Regions from separate parts of the Homo sapiens genome. Here all the other regions are linked to region 5. The links are contacts of gene promoters, found by promoter capture Hi-C in blood cells and fetal thymus (Javierre and others, 2016). All regions are on one chromosome and are shown on one strand. The core of a region is centred on a gene start or on the middle of the fragment in contact, and the rest is flanking DNA. Distances in the headings are between cores, read along the strand shown.

Region 1 (2,976 bases), core at 407-2,906, 900 kb before region 5:
CACCACCGACCTCCCGCAGACGCCGCTGGTCATCGCTATCTCCTACTTCATCACCAGCCTGAGCTACGCCAACAGCTGCCTCAACCCCTTCCTCTACGCCTTCCTGGACGCCAGCTTCCGCAGGAACCTCCGCCAGCTGATAACTTGCCGCGCGGCAGCCTGACTCCCCCAGCGTCCGGCTCCGCAACTGCCCGCCACTCCTGGCCAGCGAGGGAGGAGCCGGCGCCAGAGTGCGGGACCAGACAGGCCGCCTAGGCCTCCTGGGGAAACCGACTCGCGCCCCATACCCGACCTAGCAGATCGGAAGCGCTGCGACTGTGCCCGCAGGTTGACCTTGCCAAGCCCTCCAGGTGATGCGCGGCCATGCCGGGTGAGGAGAACTGAGGCTGAGATCGCCACACTGAGGGCTCCCTAAAGCCGAGGTGGAGGAAGAGGAGGGTAGAGGAGGAGGGCGGTATTGCTGGGAACCGCCCCCTCCCTGCCCTGCTCCCTGCTGCCCCACCCGAGCCCTGGCAGTCTGGAACCTGGCTGGAGTCGGAACTCTCCGCGCCTTCGAAGGGAGGCCCGAGGACGCTGCCGGCGCCCCCAGGCGTCGGCTCCGCGCGGCCCCTGCTGTAGCTGGCGCACAGCCCCGGCGGGTCCCCTTGTCCTCCGCGCGCTCTGGGAAGACGGTCAGGCGCGCGCGTTTGGCGCCCACCCCTGTGAGACCCGCTTGGCCTGGCGCCGCGGGCGGGGACCGCTGCCGAGGCCGCCAGCGCCTCTTCAACTGGGGAAAACACAACAACTCGGGATGCCCCATCGGAGTGTGTATACACCTGTGTGTGTGTGTGTGTGGTGTGCGCGCGTTTGCGGAGGCATGAAATGCGGGGAAAGAGGCTGGCGCTTGGCAGTGACTGCCTAGAATATGATACGAATAGTGATCCTTCTTTCTGTCTGCCCCTACTCCTTTTCTTTGCCTTTTCCCTTTCCTATCCGTGATCTCCCCTGAAAATGTCAGACTCCCGGAGCAAGGAACCCGGAGTAGCCCGGGCGCGCGGTTCCGGCGCCCCCTGGAGGAGCCAGCGGCCGAGTGCTTAGCGTCGGAGGATCGCGGGGCTTTGTGGTGGAGCACTCCGGCTGAGCGCGCTTCACAGCGCTGTGGCACACTGGTCATCGTTGCTTATAGAGGATGCCAAGCCCCACCCCCATTCCCCCAATTGGCCTCGTCTCTTGTCTTACTTAGATCAGTTTGTTGTAACTGTTCATGTGTGTACTGTTTTTCAGGACTGAAAACTTTATAAATAATGTACATGTCCTAATCTCACGAGTTGCCATGAAGATCAAATAAGATAAAAAGAAATGCGATCTATTCTCTTGTGTTCCCTTTCTCCTCTGCTTCCTTGGCTCCGCCTTAGGGAGAGCAGGAAGCAGGGATGACCGACGGCTTCAGGTTTTCTCTGCTGTACTTTTCACAGGGAGCTGTGGATTACCTGGGCTTTATTCCTTACTTGTAGACGGCATCCGGTAGGTAGTCCCGGTAAACCGGGTAAATACTGGTCCTGGAGTCACCAGGGAGATTGGCCAGCATCCTACCTGTGTTTTTGTCTCTGCATATGGAAGACAAAGTGGATTAAGAGAGAGGACTGGCATTGGGTTTGCCCAATCCTCTGCAGTTTAGCCTTAGACATGAGGGCCGAACCCTAAGCAAAGTCTGGTAATTGATTATGGTGTTTTAAAAGGTATTAATCTTTAGGATGAAGTCCAAACAGGATGAAAATTTCTACAAATGTTTGTTTCCTATGTCATGTGTGAGAAAAAAAAATGTGAGTGTTGCAGCACATTTTGTTTGCTTAGTTTGGCATCTTCAATCAATTTCTCAATTATTTAGGTTGAAAATAGCTTTTAATAAATATTTGGAAGGAAAAAACTCCCCCTTGGAATGGGGGGAAGCAAACCCCCTCTCTAATTTTGGTGAATAAGAATTGCTTTCTTAGCTCTCAGAGTTTTTAGGAACATTGAAATAATTCATAGCCATCAGTTTAGAAAATATACATTAAAAAACCTTCTGTCTTGGGTGGCAAATAATAGTAAATTGTTTAAAAGAAAGTTTTCATCTACAATGAGTTTCGAGTGGTGGACCTCATGGCATTTGAACAGGCCTCTCTCTGCTGGCCGGCTTCGGAGGCTTCTTGGAATTCATTTTAATATCTTTCGAATTTCTAGGAAACATTCTATTGATTTTCCTTAAACTCTCAAAATTATCTCATGAATCCTCTGTAACTTTTCAAAATTAAAGTTTTAAACTTAGAGTAACTTCTAGATTACCTAAGGTGATGGACAAAGAGTAAGGTGAACATTTGGCTACAAACACAGCTGGAGTGATTGTCTGGATTCAGTATCTCATCTGTCTTAATAAGCTCAGTAACTGGACTCAGATGGGGGACAGCTGAGTGATCCATCTGTCCACTGTTTCATCCCTACAGTAGATTGACCTCGAGCCTTCTTGGAATCTATGGAGATGACTGCTGGAAAAATACACGGGCTGACATTGCTGTTCATCCCCAGCAAGGCATGGACTGGCTTCTGAGTATGCCTGTGGGATTAATCAGGTCTCAGCAGTTGAGTTCCTCCTGGGCTTTCTGATCACTGGATAAACTGTTGTATCATTATTTCTAGGTCGTTGCCCTTCATACGAGCATGTAGACTGTATATCTCAGGCTTCCTTTTTATGTCTTGGGTAATCGGTTGAATAAATACACACATAAGCCAGGCAAAAGTAGAATTTATTCACATCATTGTATTGCAAAGGTTTTAACACTGTGTTGAATTCTTGCAGTTTCTGTGTAAACTCTATGGTTTGGTTTTACCACTTTGAATAGTTAAAAATGTCTATTTGCTTTTACTTAATTTAGTGCAGTTATGTAATGTGTATGCTTATGTTTTCTCTTGACAAACGCAGAAACTCTGTAGTCCATTGTAGAGGAGCTCAGTTTAAAA
Region 2 (2,942 bases), core at 342-2,841, 830 kb before region 5:
GGAAACTTGGGTCTTTCTAGGTAAAGACTCCGGGCAGAAAATCAAGAGTAATGTCTAACAGACAAAACTTCAACAGCTAGAAACCTCTTCCCTAATAAGGAGGAAACCTGACTGAAAAGAAACAAGCTTAATGAGTTGTTTTGACAGGTAGATCTACTGGCCCATTAAGACAATTTCGTGCCTCTGTTGAAGTGAGATAGTACCTGATTATAAACTCACAGAGCATTCTCCAAAGGGTAGGTGTTAAGTTGTTGGTAGTTTCTTTGTAATGTTTTGTTGCCTGCCTTTATAGGGTAGCTCAATATAAATATGTAACTACTTTGAGAATTATTTCCTTTCTTGGGGGATAATTGGTTTAGCTCATAATGGAGGTTGTTTTGAATGGGAAATGGTCTTATCTATTCCCTTACATAAATGAAAAATTTGTTAGAGGGATATTTTTAAGGCTAAAGATTCTTTCATTTTCTTGACAAATTATCTCCTAAGACTGGTAGGTAATTGTGAAATCACAATGACAGAGATGGGAGAAAGCTGCTACTCTTCTTGTTTGAATTACTTTGCAGGTTCAGAAATAAAATGCTGCAATTCTGACGTCTTTCCATTGTAACAGGAAACAGACAAGGTATTACAAAAATTGCTCATGTTCCCAAATTGGACTGTGAAATTATTGGTTGTCTTTCAGAGGGTGTGAAAATATTCAGATCTCAGAATTTTTATCTAACTTTCACAGACATAAATGCTCATTTTATTACTTTTAAATGACTTTTCTGCAAGACTTCATCCATGTTTGTGGGAATCTGATGCATGTGTGTACATGAAGAAGGTAGATTTTCTGTTTCTCACCCAGATTATACTGATATGTAGAACAAGTGGAAGTGGAAACAGCAAAGATGCCCCACACAGTGATATTTGATTACATAGATGTTGTTTCTGTTTTTGAATGTGCCTCTGACGGTTTGAATAGTAAACTACCAGGATTTAGAGACTGTTAGGATGCTAGCTTGGAGGACTCCATCAGACGCACTCAGGGCGTTCATAAGATTAGCCTTCCCAGCCCTGATCCCTCTCCCAACCATCCCACTCAGATCTATCTAGTCAGAATCTGTACATGCCACTCAGGGAATCTGTTTCTTTAATAAGAATTCTTGGGTGATTCTAAAGTTTTAACCAGTTTTGGAGCTACTAAACTTTTCCAGTTTCTCTGTGTTATAGAAGAAGAAATGAGACTCAGCATGGTATAACCCTAAACTGTCAGAAAATGTTGCAGAGGTTTTCAGTGATGTGCTAAGGTCATGCAGCTATTCAGCGACAGCCCTGTTCTCTGGTCCTGGTTAAGAGCTTTGCCTCTTCCCATGGCCTAGAGGAGGCTGAGGTCTCTGTTGCAGCTGCACCACAATGCAGCTTCTCTCTCTGCCTACTCCTGCTTTCTTCACTTCCCAGCCACCTCCTGCACACAAACCTCTTCCTCAGAATAGGTTTTTTTTTTTGAAATTCAGCCTGACACATAGGTCTGCTGTCAGATGCACACATCTCTGCCCTGCTCAAGCATTCATCAGTATATTTCTCCAGCATGCCACTGGAAATGTTGATCCCACTTTTTCTTAAGTTTTGCAATAAAACTCAGGGGGGAGAAAAGAAGAGGAGAGGGGGAGGCAACATGGAGGGCAACCTGGTTTTTACAGTTCCAGTGCTAAGTGACGTACCTTACCACTTCTCTACCTAATCTGAAAGCGACCAACAGTAATGGGCAAAATAGCTTACATAGGAATTCCTATGTATTTGTGAAAGTTGTCAGAATCAAAACCAAGCCACTTGTGTTTTTAAAAAAAAAAAAAAAAAAGCCTGACAAATAGAGCCAGGGAAGGCCATGAAAGAAAGGGTCTGATAGCAAGGTAACTGTCACAAAAGACTGCAAAAACCGCAAGCTAGTACAAAGACTATTGGAACCTTACACATACATGCAAAAATACTTCTTCAAGGACTTCTGCCCAGCAACTGCCTGTCCAACCTCAGACTGGTGCTGCTCTTGTTATTGATCCCCATAGCCAAGGATAATTATCTCAAAAACAATTATGTAATCCTCCTCATCTCTCCTTTAAGACACTTTGCCTTCCTTTTACCTCCCTGAATGCACACATAGGTTACTATATGTGTCTTCCCATTGTAATGCCTATTCCTGCAGAAGCATCATTTTTTCTTAGAGAATCTCTCTTCGTTGTTATTTAGACATATTGCATTAAGATTATAATTTGCATCAACGTTACGTATTCTCAAGTAGAGTATTTTTATTTCTGAATTTTAGTTCATGTTCAGAAATTCTGGAAAAATGGCTGTGAATTGTTAGTGCAAAAATGTAATTCTTCCACAGATATTCAATACATATTTGGAGAATGATTTCATCAAGTGATTTTGATAAGTGAAGTTCTTAGAAAAAAATTCTGCAAATATGGGAACTTTTTTTAGGCACCATTAGGACAAAAGGTCTAAATTATTATAGAAAAAAATTCATTCTATTAGCCTGTTAGAAGAGAAAATCTGTTAGAAAAGATGTCTGAGGTGAATTTTTAAACACTAAAATGTTCTTTCCTTAAGAACAATTGCATTTTGCATTTATGCAACTGCATAACAACTTTAAAGAAAGAAAATTTTTCATATATTCATCTATCATCCAGCTGCTTTAGATGTGATAGCTCATTTACCTTGAATGATCATGTATGCTTTATAAATATAATATTTATATATACTTACATTGCATTAGAATTTTCAGTTTTCCCTTATGATTTCTTTTAAACAAATCTGACTTTTACCAAATAGTCTCAGTAGAGGATAGTAAAAATAGGAATGTATCTTCTATCTCATTAAGTTATTTAAATACTTTGTTGAAGTTTTAGGCCTTCTTTCTCAGTGCAGTGTTGGAATACATTCTTTCTATATTTCAAAAT
Region 3 (2,905 bases), core at 93-2,592, 850 kb before region 5:
CATAAACAGTTGGTGAGGTGTTTATGTCTAGGCAGCTCAACCCTAACCCTGGAGAGGGTCATGTGCTTGGCCTCAGAGATGGAGAGGACAGGGCTCAGTGGCCGCACCTAAGGCAGAGTAGTGTAGCAGGCCCCTTCTGTTGCAGTCGGTCACTGGAGTGCCCTTCCTCTGGGCCAGTGATGGAGGCTGGGCTTCTTTGGAGACCCACAATCTTTCAGGACCTCCACTTCCTTTCCCTGCCACCTGTGTCCATGTATCTGGAATGGGGAAATGGTAAGGAACCCTTTACTGTAACCCTCCAGGAATAGGACAAGAGGTTTCTTCTTCTTCTTATTATTATTATTTGAGTCAGAGTTTTGCTATGGTTGCCCAGGCTGGAGTGCAATGGCGTGATCTCGGCTCACTACAACCTCCGCCTCCCAGGTTCAAGCAGTTCTCCTGCCCCAGCCTCCTGAGTAGCTGGGATTACAGGCATGCGCCCCACGCCTGGCTAATTTTGTATTTTTATTAGAGACGGGCTCCATGTTGGTCAGGCTGGTCTTGAACTCCTGACCTCAGGTGATCTGTCAGCCTTGGCCTCCTAAAGTGCTGGGATTACAGGCATGAGCCACGGCGCCCAGCCAAGAGGTGGTATTAAGCTTATTAACATTTAATCATGCTTCATGAATTTGTCAAAGGCTCACTCATTCAGAGCAAAAATAACTTGTGTATTAGTTTCACCTCTGGACCTAGAAAGCCAGCCCTTAATCAGGTAAGCAGTCTCACATATACTTGGCTGACAGCACTGGGTATACATTTGAATCTTCCACTTTGTGAGTAGTTCGTCTCCTATGGCTTGTTATGAAAAAATTAAGTGAAAGAAAAATATCTCACAGTCTGCCAAAACTTGGAATTGGTTGGCACAGAAATGCATGATTAAAACATCAAAGTGTAGGTACGTTATGGTTTCAGCTTTTTTTCTTGTATAGACACAAGGCTATTATTGTTCATAATGAACACGTAAGACCTTAGCTTTTATTAAATGTGGAAAATAAGGTCAACATTTTTTCTTTAATATACATCTGGCTAATTATGTTGAGTTTTACCTTCCAGAATAAGGAGAAAAATATTTCTAAAGAAAGAAACGTAAGAAGCAGCCAGAGTGAGTAGAAAGGCCCAGGGGGTTGCTGTAATGGAGTCCTTCCTCTCATGCAGGCACTGGGCCAGGCGCTGCCCTTTGTTATCTTAGGGAGAAAGGAGAGCAGGGACTGAAAAGCCTTAGGAAGGAAATGGCCCTCTCTCAGTTGCAATCCATTCTTTCCACTGAGAATCTTGCATTACCCAATAACCTACCATCTTCACAGGCCAACAACAAGGCAGACTGGAGGAGGGTATACATTGTACTCTTTTTTTTTTTTTTTTTTTTGAAACAGAGTCTCACTCTGTTACCCAGGCTAGAGTGCAATGGTACAATCTCCGATCACTGCAACCTCCATTTCCCGGATTCAAGTGATTCTTCTGCCTCAGCCTCTCAAGTAGCTGGGATTATAGGCACCCACCACCACGCCTGGCTAATTTTGTATTTTTAGTAGAGACAGAGTTTCACCATGTTGGCCAGGCTGGTCTTGAACTCCTGACCTCAAGTGATCCACCTGCATCAGCCTCCCAAAGTGCTGGGGTTACAGGCGTGAGCCACCATGCCCGGCCTGTCATCATTTTAAATAAAAGGGAAAAAGCATAGACCATGTGCTTAGAGGAGAATTCCAGGTCGATTATGGGCCTTAAACTTGATTTCCCTGGTTTGCCCAGGCTCTTCATGCCTGTAATGAGAAAACATGTGAATCTGCTTTTCCTATTATGAAATATTCATGTTAATTAAAAGAATACTTATGGAGTACACTTTAGGTGCAATGTGGGGTGGCAGGTGAGAGAGAGGATTGAGAGATGATCTCTGTGCTCAGGACATAGACATCTATTGGAGGATAAACACAATGAGCCGCCCTACCAAGAATAAGAAGAGATATGCCCAAACAGGGCCAAATGCTAATTCTGAGGAAGGACTTACAGAAAGCTTCCAAGAAGGGCCCTGGTGGGTGGGAGATGAGGAACAGTGACTTCAGACAAAAGGACTAAAGAAATGCAAGGAGGCACAGAAGTTCAAGGCTTCGTCATGGAGTTGTGACAGACAGGTCCGGCTGGCGGGCCATCTGGGAGCGTAGGTTGAAATAGGCTGGAAAGGCATCTGTGTCTGGACTTTAGCAGGCTTTGAATGCCAAGAAGAGCAGAAGTGAGAATTTCAGTAAAGACTTTCAAACAGGGGAGTGGCATAACTACATTTTGTGATTAAGGAACTAATTCTGGAGTCAGTGTAAAGGATGGACTGGAGAAGAGACAGACTGGAAGCAGAGGACCTGTCAAGAGGCCATTGTTGTCAACAGTGTCGGTGAGAAGCTCTATGGAAACAAAGCAGATACGAACAGGGAAGCAAGCATGATCTTTGGAAAAACATGTCAAGGCTGGTAGAAAAAGCTTTGGGCATGGGCATTGGACACCCAGATTCTGCCACTTCCCAGCCATGAGATTAGGGCACATCTCTTAAGTTGCTGAAATCAGTTTCTTCATTGGTAAAATGGAAGTGATATCCACCTTATGAGAGAAGTTCTGGGAGAGTGCTTTGTACATTCTAAACTGCAATACCCATTGTGATATTCTTAAGTTTTTAGAATGTTGAGACTGTCTTATTGAATTATTTAACAGATATTTATTGAGTGCCTTTTGTAGGCTGGGCATTGTTTTTGCTTTTGGGGACTCAGAAGTGAATAAAACAAGTAAAATGTCCTGTGCTCATGGAACTTATACACCATGGGGGGATAGAACAGAAACAAAAGGTATAAAATATATAGCCTGTTGAGAGCAATGAGTGGTT
Region 4 (2,856 bases), core at 98-2,597, 620 kb after region 5:
GGATTTTTCTGCTTTTTAAAATAAATATTTGTTTGGACGTTTGAATACAATAGTAAGGATCAGAGGTGCACACATGCGCACCAAGAATATTGACCTGAAAAAGCTTACTGAGATAACAGGAAGGAAAAATAGAAAATAAAAATTTAGGTTTGTAGTTTCAATAACGAGACTGTGGATATAGAAAACATTATTGTTTTATTCATTTAAAAATAATTTTAAAAATGTAAATGATGCACACGCTTACAACAACTCAAACAACATTGCAGACGGGCTTGTAATATAAACAGAGTTGTCAGAAGTTTCCATCTCTCCCCAGCCCCAGTGCCACAGGTCAGAATCAATTCCTTTTTTCTTCCCCCTACTGGGCATTACCTACATTAATAATTCTGCTTGTCTAGTGGTTAATTAATTAATGTACCTGCATGGCTAATTTTAGGCTTATGAGTTTTAGACATTTACTTTCTGCTACGACAGCTAAGAATTTCCTGCCCGCTCTTCCTCGGAATATAGTTACATCCTTATTTCCACTTCTGTTAATTGTCTTTTAAAGTCCAGGACTACATACCCTTTTCTAGTTCCATCGCGAAGGCGGGAAGTCTCGATTCCTCACTGGGAAAGGTGAGGACATGGATGCCTCCACCCTTCCCTGAAGCACTCCTCTCCTCTTCTGCGGAGGTGGATTTTTAAAAACAGATTGGGGTTGGGGTGGGGGAGGGACAGCACGCAGAATATTGATGCAAACGTCATATGAAAAAAAATACATATAATATATATGTATGTATACCTGCAAAGTGCTGTTACATATACGTGTGTATATTAACAGCATTATGAATCCCAGACAATTGGGGCCGCTTACCGCCGTGGCTGTGACTTTAAATTCACTCACTTCTTACATCCACTAGGAAAAGAGGATTTGTTTCCCTAAAGCCTATAAAAGGGGAAAGGCTTAGGCGCAGTGGCAGCCCCGTTCCCCGCACCCTCCTGCCCTCGGGTCCCGGGCGGGCTGCGGGAGTTCCTCCTGCGCGGGCGTCTGAGGCGCTAGAGGTCACCGGAGCGCGCTCCCCTCGCCAGGGACCTACACTCTTCCCGCTGCTACATTAGGCCGCATTAACAAGGATCTGGATTCACTTTAATTTAAAAGGTAAAAGATCTTAGGTCTGATGGGGGAGTGCGGCGAGGAGAGCTCGGACCGCGACGTCGCGCGCCCGCTTCGAGGAGTTTTGAGCTCTTAGCTTGGTGCCGGGGCCCGCCCGGCGCTAGATGAAGTGCTCGTTTACTCGGCCTAAGCCACGGTGACTCGAAGGTGAGAATGCAACTTCGCGGTGCACCGGCTCAGGGGCCTGCCTGCCGCGCCAAGGCTTCGGAAGTTCTCAGCGGGACCGCTGGGACAGGCTTTCCTCTGAGGGAAGAGGAGGGGATTTGTGCCTCTGCACGTTCTTTCCTGTGGAGGGGAAAATCAAACCCTGTAGCCGTCCGCTGCCGGGTAGGGATCGGGCGATGCTCGGCGCCCGAGTTCTCCGCCGTTGAGGTGGAGCCCGGCGGCGGGAGCTTAGATTCTCTGTGGGCCACATGGTCTCAGAAGAGGCCCCGCGGCCCGGGGGCGCCCGCAGTGTCGCTGGACCGGCGGCAGCGCTGGCCACGCCGTGGGCTGGGACTGGCCCGGAACGCGGGTGGCGGTTCGGCCTCGGAGACCCGCGCAGCCGTCGGAGCATCTCCGTGCCTCGCTCACCACCTTCTTTTCCTCCGCGTCCGGCGGAGGGTTTCGGCGCGCGGGGCAGGCCTGGAGCGCCGTGAGCAGGCCGGATGCGGGATACGCCAGTGACTACCAGAGCCAGACCCGGAGCGCGCTGCCGGCGGTGACGGCTAGGCTGGGCCCCTGTCCTTGGGCCGAGTTGCCGAGCTCCCTCGGGGACTTGAAGGTGAAGGGCGAGGCGCCGGCCGGGGCCGCGGGCCGAGCCAAGGGCGAGTCTCGCATCCGGCGCCTTCCAGGTGGGGCGAAGGTCGAGCGCCAGAGGCTGGCGAGGGACCCCCGCCCAGCTTGACGCCCAGCTGCGCCCGACGCCGGGGGAGGCGGAGCGCGGGGAACCCGGGCGCCGGGAACCCCGGACGTGGGAGGGCTGGGCTTCTGCGCGGGGAGACGCCGGGCTTGGCGAACATCCTCAAGAACCGGTCGGTGGCTCTACCTCCGAAAACTCTTTCGTGTTTAGCGATTCTCATATTTAGTGTTTCCCTTTAGGGAGACTTGACCGGCAATTGCAGACTCGTCTTGGGAGCTGGAGATGACATTAAATAAAAAGTTCAAAACCAAATTGTTAATTATCTCCAGGTATAAACGATAACACAAAATTTTGCAGTCTTGGGAGAAAGGTTTTAATGTGCCGCCTAATTAGGCCAGGTTCTGCAAAAACGAAACAGCTCTATTCCAAGTTAAAAAGTATGCCCCTATTCCAAGTTAAAAGAAAAAAAAGTTGTATTCCTTGTTCATTTATTGAGTAAGGAATTGAGAGATGGGTGCTGAGTTATTACAGATTCTAACTGCTCGCCACACATGGAGCTAGAAATACATTTAACAGCCTTTCAGGAAAACGCCTAAAGCTTTAGAATTTCAAGCTAGCCAGGTTGCAATCTAGAGCTCTAGTTTGTTGCTGAAGTTTGGGAGAGGATGGCCTCTACCTGTGCACACATCGAGTTAATTTTCCAGAGTCTTTTGAAGTTAATAGGGAGCGGCTTTTCTGTTTGTTTATTTTTTGACAGGGTATCCTTCTGTCGCCCAAGCTGGAGTGCAGTGGTGCATCGCAGCTCACTGCAACCTGGACCTCCTGGGCCCAAGCGATCCTCCTGCCTCTGTCTCCCAAA
Region 5 (3,125 bases), core at 80-2,579:
GGCTTTTGCTTTTCTAGAAAAATTTTTTTCATTATTGGCACTAACACTGCAGTAAGATTTTTAAAGCAATCACCTAATATACTGAAATCAGAAATCATGATTAAATAGAATAGGTATAAATATGGGAAAAATTGTAAATTTATACAATTGTGGTTAACTTTTCTCATAGAGAAACAATAAGAATATGAATAGTACGGATAAGGCTAGTTTTATAAACATTTACTAAGCATCATTTTGAAGTGGCACATTAAAAATTCTAAGTCCTTTCGAAAATTACTCAAATTAAAATACACAAAGTGGGAACATAATTTCTTAGAAGACAGTGCTTTCCTTTTCAAACAAAATTCATAGTATTTGCAAAATCAAAATTCGGAGAGAAAGTTTTAGAACAAATACATATTACAATTTAGGTAAGCCAACAATGGCGGTCTGGCTGGACGACAAGAACCTACAATAATGAAATTCTATGTAATTCTCACTCCTAAACTTCCAGATACAAACGACTGATTTTAACACAAAGCAAAATACAGGTTGCCACTTGCAAAACATAAATTCACGGCCATGGCCACAAAGAAGTTAAAATCCTACCCAAAATTATATTCCGGGTTTCCAACGATCTTAATCAATTTGGAACTTAATCTCTGTATCTGAAGATTTGCTGTATAAACAACCCTGGGCAGCGCGAACGACAGGGCCCAGGAAAAAACAGGCTTCAACTGGGCCAGGCTGGAACTCTGCAGCCAAGGAGGCTCAGCCTCAGCGGCCCGTCCTGGCGTAGCTCAAGGTGTCTCTAGACAATTACCTAAGTCCCTGAACTACTCGCACCCCCAGCGATCCAGGGCCGTGGCCCAGTCCTGGAGAAGGTATACTTTTTACCCCTCCCCCTCCACTCTCCTGCCCGCCCCTGACGTTTCTTCCCCCTGCGAGAAAGGCTCCAGAATTTCGCTTAATAAACCTGGTTGAGGCCTGGAAGAAAAGCAATCTGGCAACCGGGGGCCGAAGAACAGGAGAGGACCAAGCGGCGAGACACCAGCACGCACCAGGCAAGCTGGAGAAACTGCAAGAGTCGCCTGACCTGGTCTGCAGCCTGAGACCAAACAACGCGAGGGCGGCCTTACCTCGCGAATCCTCGGGACCCCACAACGCACCCAAAGCCGGCAGGGAGGGTGGTCCGGGGCGCCGGGGACACAGCCGGGCTGGGGCGCCGCGTCAGAGCCAAGTAGGCGTCTCCTGTCAGGTCCAGAGGTCTGAGCAGTGGAGGGAGACTCCGGGAGCCGAAAGTGAAGCGGGTCCCGCACCAAGGAGACGTTGAGGGCCGCACAGGTAGAAGGAAGCCAGGGCGGCCGCAGTAGAATGACAGAGGCGCCGGTCACGTGATCGGAGGCACGTGACTGCTGCGGAAGGCGGAAGCCGGGAGACTCCAAAGCAGCAAGAGGAGGGGCGGGCGCTGCGGCGGGGCTTGTTCGGTGCGGACAACTGGATTCCCGAGTCCGTAACTTGGGCCCCGGAGCGACGCAAGGGTCGGGCCCCAGCCAGCCAGGGCAGGTGGGAGGCGGCGAGCGTGGCGGGCACGCTAAGACCCGCCGCCCCCAGACCTAGTGCCTCGCCTAGGGGAGGCCGAGGACCTCCGCCCGGAAGCAGCTAGCAGAGGCCAAAACGCTCTTATTGTAACCGTCATTCTTTTGAAAAGTTTGATTTCGCGCTTTCAAATTAATTTCCATTTGGATTTAACAGCTCCATGAAGCAGGCGTTCTTATTCTGATTTTAAATAGAAAACTCGGGCTGAGAAGTGGGTCTGAAAAGCTCTCTTAACCTAGGGTTGCACATTTAGCAAATAATAAATTCCATTGCAGTATTTACTTTTATACTAAAAAGTTATTCGTTGTTTATCTAAAATTCACATTTACAGGACGTCTGGTATTTTATCCAACAGTCCCATCTGGAGCCCAAATTTTCCCCTAGTCCAGGCCTCAGCAACTGTCTTTGCCTTAAAGTAAGAATGTACTGCCCTGGAGGTGAAGTATATATGATAGCATGTTTTCCTTAAAAAGCAATGAAAGGGGCCGGGCGCGGTGGCTCACTCCTGTAATCCCAGCACTTTGGGAGGCCGAGGCCAGTGGATCACCTGAGGTCTGGAGTTCGAGACCAGCTGACCAACATGGTGAAACCCCATCTCTACTAAAAATACAAAAAATTAGCTGGGTGTGGTGGCGCATGCCTGTAATCCCAGCTGCTTGGGAGGCTGAGGTAGGAAAATCACTTGAACCCAGGAGGCAGAGGTTGCAGTGAGCCAAGACCGCACCATTGTACTCCAGCCTGGGCAGAAAAAGCAAAACTCCGTCTCAAAAAGAAAAAAAAAAAATTCTTTGAAAGGGATTTATAACCAACCCATTTTTACTCGTAAAATTAAAGTCAGAATAATCAAAATCATGCATTGATTATGAATAAAGATATATAATAACAGTGTCAAAGATTGTACTAGGTCACTCATTCTGTCTTAGCCAGAAGTGAAAGTCTGTTGTTTTGAAAGCAAATCTAAGGGGAAAAACTTTCATAAAAGAGAAAAAGAAACCGATCGTGTACTAAGAAACTCCCAAAAGCTGAAACAGCATGTTTTCTGTGTAACTGAGCAAAGCTGGCAGTGAGGCCTGATCTTCGCATTTCCTTTCTGTATCACCTAAGCCACAGACTGGCGTGATACAGCGAGTCTCATCAGATTTCGGGAGGCTCTCCTCTTTTCCTAGAGGCACAAAGTTATGGAACAAAATCAGGAACAGTGCAGTGAGCAGAGGGGACTGCTTCACAGGCACCTGGGCTGGCGTTCTCCGAGCATCACAACATTACCAGACAATTTGCCTGGAGTAGGGAGAAGAGAAGAGGCAGGTACTCCCGGCATTATCTCTCTTAACATTATTTCTGTAACACTTCTATCGGAGATTTTTCTTGGTCCATTCAGGCTCCTGTAACAGTGCTGTAGACTGGGTGGCTTATAAACAACAGAAAGTCATTTTCTCACAGTTCTGGAGGTTGAAAGTTCAGAATTGGGGTGCTATCATGGTGAGGTTCTGGGAAGGATTGTCCCAGGTTGCAAACTGCTGTCTTCTCATTGTAGCTTCACATGGTGG
Region 6 (3,178 bases), core at 289-2,788, 880 kb before region 5:
TCCTTCTGTATTCCCCTGCACTCTGACTCCCAGTTTCTCTTTGCCTTTGAGGATCCCACAGACCAAACATCCCAACTTATGTGGACGGTCTTGCCCCAAGGGTTTAGGGATAGCCCTCATCTGTTTGATCAGGCACTGGCCCAAGATCTAGGCCACTTCTCAAGTCCAGGCAGTCTGGTCCTTCAGTATGTGGATGATTTACTTTTGGCTACCAGTTCGGAAGCCTCCTGCCAGCAGGCTACTCTAGATCTCTTGAACTTTCTAGCTAATCAAGGGTATAAGGTGTCTAGGTCAAAGGCCCAGCTTTGCCTACAGCAGGCCAAATATCTAGGCTTAATCTTAGCCAGCAGGACCAGGGCCATCAGCAAGGAATGAATACAGCCTATACTGGCTTATCTTCACCCTAAGACATTAAAACAGTTGTGGGGGTTCCTTGGAAGTACCGGCTTTTCCCTACTATGGATCCTCGGATACAGCGAGATAGCCACACCCCTCTATACTGTAATCAAGGAAACCCAGAGGGCAAATACTCATCTAGTAGAATGGGAACCAGAGGCAGAAACAGCCTTCAAAACCTTAAAGCAGGCCCTAGTACAAGATCCAGCTTTAAGCCTTCTTACAGGACAAAACTTTTCTTTATATGTCACAGAGAGAGCAGGGATAGCTCTTGGAGTCCTTACTCAGACTCGTGGGACAACTCCACAACCAGTGGCACAACTAAGTAAGGAAATTGATGTAGTAGCAAAAGGCTGGCCTCACTGTTTATGGGTAGTTGCAGCAGTGGCCATCTTAGTGTCAGAGGCTATCAAAATGATACAAGGAAAGGATCTCACTGTCTGTACTACTCATGATGTAAATGGCATACTAGTTGCCAAAGGAAGTTTATGGAGTTTATGGCTATCAGACAACCACCTACTTAGATACCAGGCGCTACTCCTTGAGGGACTGGTGCTTCAAATACACACATGCGTGGCCCTCAACCCTGCCACTTTTCTCCCAGAGGATGGGGAACCAATTGAGCATGAGTGCCAACAAATTATACTCCAGACTTATGCCACCTGAGATGATCTCTTAAAAGTCCCCTTAGCTAATCCTGACCTTAACCTATATACTGATGGAAGTTCATTTGTAGAGAATGGGATACGAAGGACAGGTTATGCCATAGTTAGTGATGTAACCATACTTGAATGTAAGCCTCTTCCCCCAGGGACCAGTGCCCAGTTAGCGGAACTAGTGACACTTTCCGGAGCCTCAGAACTGGGAAAGGGAAAAAGAATAAGTGTGTATACAGACAGCAAGTATGCTTATCTAATCCTACATGTCCATGCTGAATATAGAAAGAAAGGGAGTTCCTGACTTCTGGGGGAACCCCCATTGAGCATCAAAAGGAAACTACGGAGTTATTGCACGTAATGCAAAAATCCAAGGAGGTGGCAGTCTTACACTGCCAAAGCCATCAAAGAGGGGAAGGAGAGGGGAGAACAGCAGCATGAGCAGCTGGTGGAGGCAGCAGAAAGGAAAGAGACAGAAAGTCAAAGAGAGAGAGAGGAAGAAACAGAGAGAAAGAAAAGGAGAGAGAGAGAGAGACAGACACAGAAAGTCAAAGAGAAAGTCAAAGAGAAAGTCAAGGAGAGAGTCAAAAAGAGAGAAAGAGACAAAGAAGAAGTCAAAGAGAAAGAAAGAGAAATGGAAGTAGTAAAGAAAAAAACAGTGTACCCTATTCCTTTAAAAGTCAGGGTAAATTTCTGTCTACCCAGACAAGGCATATTGTTCTTATGTGGAACACTGACTTATATCTGCCTCCCCACTAACTGGACCGACACCTGCACCTTAGTCTTTCTAAGTCACAACATTAACATTGCCCCAGGAAATCAAACCCTATCAGTACCCCTCAAAGCTCAAGTCTGTCAGCGAAGAGCCATACTACTAATACCCTTACTTATAGGGTTAGGAATGGCTACTGCTACAGGAAACAGAATAGCTGGTTTATCTACTTCATTATCCTACACACTCTGAAAGGATTTCTCAGACAGTTTGCAAGAAATAAAAAAACTATCCTTACTTTACAATCCCAAATAGACTCTTCGGCAGCAGTGACTCTCCAAAACTGCTGAGGCCTAGACCTCCTCACTGCTGAGAAAGGAGGACTCTGCACCTTCTTAGGGGAAGAGTGTTGTTTTTACACTAACCAGTCGGAGATAGTACAAGATGCCACCCGGCATTTACAGGAAAAGGCTTCTGAAATCAGGCAACGCCTTTCAAATTCTTATACCAACCTCTGGAGCTGGGCAACGTGGCTTCTCCCCTTTCTAGGTCCCGTGGCAGCCATCTTGCTGTTACTCACCTTTGGACCCTGTATTTTTAACCTTCTTGTCAAATTTGTTTCCTCTAGAATTGAGGTCATCAACTTACAGATGGTCTTACAAATGGAACCCCAAATGAGTTCAACTAACGACTTCTACCGAGGACCCTGGACTGACTCGTGGGCACTTTCACTGCCCTAGAGAGTTCCCCTCTGGAGAACACTACAACTACAGGGCCCCTTCATCACCCCATCCAACAGGAATTAGCTAGAGTGGTCATCGGCCAAATTCCCAACAGTAGTTGGGGTGTCCTGTTTAGAGGGTGGATTGAGAGGTGACAGCATGCTGGCAGCCCTCGCTCACTCTTGGTGCCTCCTTGGCCTTGGTGCCCACTCTGGCCACACTTGAGGAGCCCTTCAGCCCACCGCTGCACTGTGGGATCTACTCTCTGGACTGGCAGAGGCTGGAGCCGTCTCCCTCTGCTTGCGGGGATGTGTGGAGTGAGAGTTGTGGGTGATACTGGGGCTGTGCACAGCGCTTTTTGGCCAGTGCGAGTTCTGGGTGGGCATGGGCTCGGCAGGCCCCGCACTCAGAGCGGCCGGCCGGTGCCACTGGCCCCAGGCAGTGAGAGGCTTAGCACTCAGGCCAGCAGCTGCAGAGGGTCCACCAGGTCCCCCAGCAGTGTGGGCCTGCCGGCTCAGCTGCCTCCCCGCAGGGCAGGGCTCGGGACCTGCAGCCCATCATCCACAAGCCTCCCCCCTGCTGTGGGCTCCTGCAGGGCCGAGCCTCCCTGACGATCACTGCACCCTGCTCCATGGCACGCAGTCCCATCAACCGTCCAAGGGCTGAGGAATGTGGGCACAAGGCACGGGACT

The links. Contacts are between HindIII fragments. The CHiCAGO score rates a contact against its expected background, and 5 or more counts as called.
Region 1: a contact is called between a fragment that was not itself captured here and the fragment with the promoter of ATP6V1H in region 5, in 9 of 17 cell types (naive CD8 T cells, fetal thymus, naive CD4 T cells and 6 more). The highest score is 9.0, in naive CD8 T cells.
Region 2: a fragment that was not itself captured here is called in contact with the fragment with the promoter of ATP6V1H in region 5 in 1 of 17 cell types (fetal thymus); the score reaches 6.5 in fetal thymus.
Region 3: a contact is called between a fragment that was not itself captured here and the fragment with the promoter of ATP6V1H in region 5, in 2 of 17 cell types (naive B cells and total B cells). The highest score is 6.2, in naive B cells.
Region 4: a fragment that was not itself captured here is called in contact with the fragment with the promoter of ATP6V1H in region 5 in 1 of 17 cell types (megakaryocytes); the score reaches 5.4 in megakaryocytes.
Region 6: a contact is called between a fragment that was not itself captured here and the fragment with the promoter of ATP6V1H in region 5, in 12 of 17 cell types (M2 macrophages, naive CD8 T cells, fetal thymus and 9 more). The highest score is 8.7, in M2 macrophages.

What each region holds. Positions count from the first base shown.
Region 1 is chr8:52,940,732-52,943,707 of GRCh38, forward strand. NPBWR1 (neuropeptides B and W receptor 1) reads left to right here. Exons shown (of 2, transcript NM_005285.5): 2 at 1-2,976. The coding sequence ends at 163. Among named protein-coding and RNA genes, the nearest start is that of NPBWR1, 3.0 kb to the left of the region's middle. The HindIII fragment of the contact is 5,917 bases long and covers 1-2,976 here.
Region 2 is chr8:53,013,353-53,016,294 of GRCh38, forward strand. No RefSeq gene overlaps it. Among named protein-coding and RNA genes, the nearest start is that of NPBWR1, 76 kb to the left of the region's middle. The HindIII fragment of the contact is 2,934 bases long and covers 125-2,942 here.
Region 3 is chr8:52,987,907-52,990,811 of GRCh38, forward strand. No RefSeq gene overlaps it. Among named protein-coding and RNA genes, the nearest start is that of NPBWR1, 50 kb to the left of the region's middle. The HindIII fragment of the contact is 1,412 bases long and covers 637-2,048 here.
Region 4 is chr8:54,465,418-54,468,273 of GRCh38, forward strand. LOC100129098 reads right to left here. Exons shown (of 2, transcript XM_041680557.1): 2 at 177-2,125. The coding sequence ends at 1,371. Among named protein-coding and RNA genes, the nearest start is that of SOX17, 8.9 kb to the left of the region's middle. The HindIII fragment of the contact is 2,492 bases long and covers 102-2,593 here.
Region 5 is chr8:53,841,916-53,845,040 of GRCh38, forward strand. It overlaps ATP6V1H (ATPase H+ transporting V1 subunit H), which reads right to left and starts at 1,330. Exons shown (of 14, transcript NM_015941.4): 1 at 1,119-1,330. RefSeq lists enhancers at 1,279-1,418, 2,716-2,765 and a silencer at 1,489-1,638. The HindIII fragment of the contact is 7,596 bases long and covers 1-3,125 here.
Region 6 is chr8:52,958,591-52,961,768 of GRCh38, forward strand. No RefSeq gene overlaps it. Among named protein-coding and RNA genes, the nearest start is that of NPBWR1, 21 kb to the left of the region's middle. The HindIII fragment of the contact is 6,943 bases long and covers 1-3,178 here.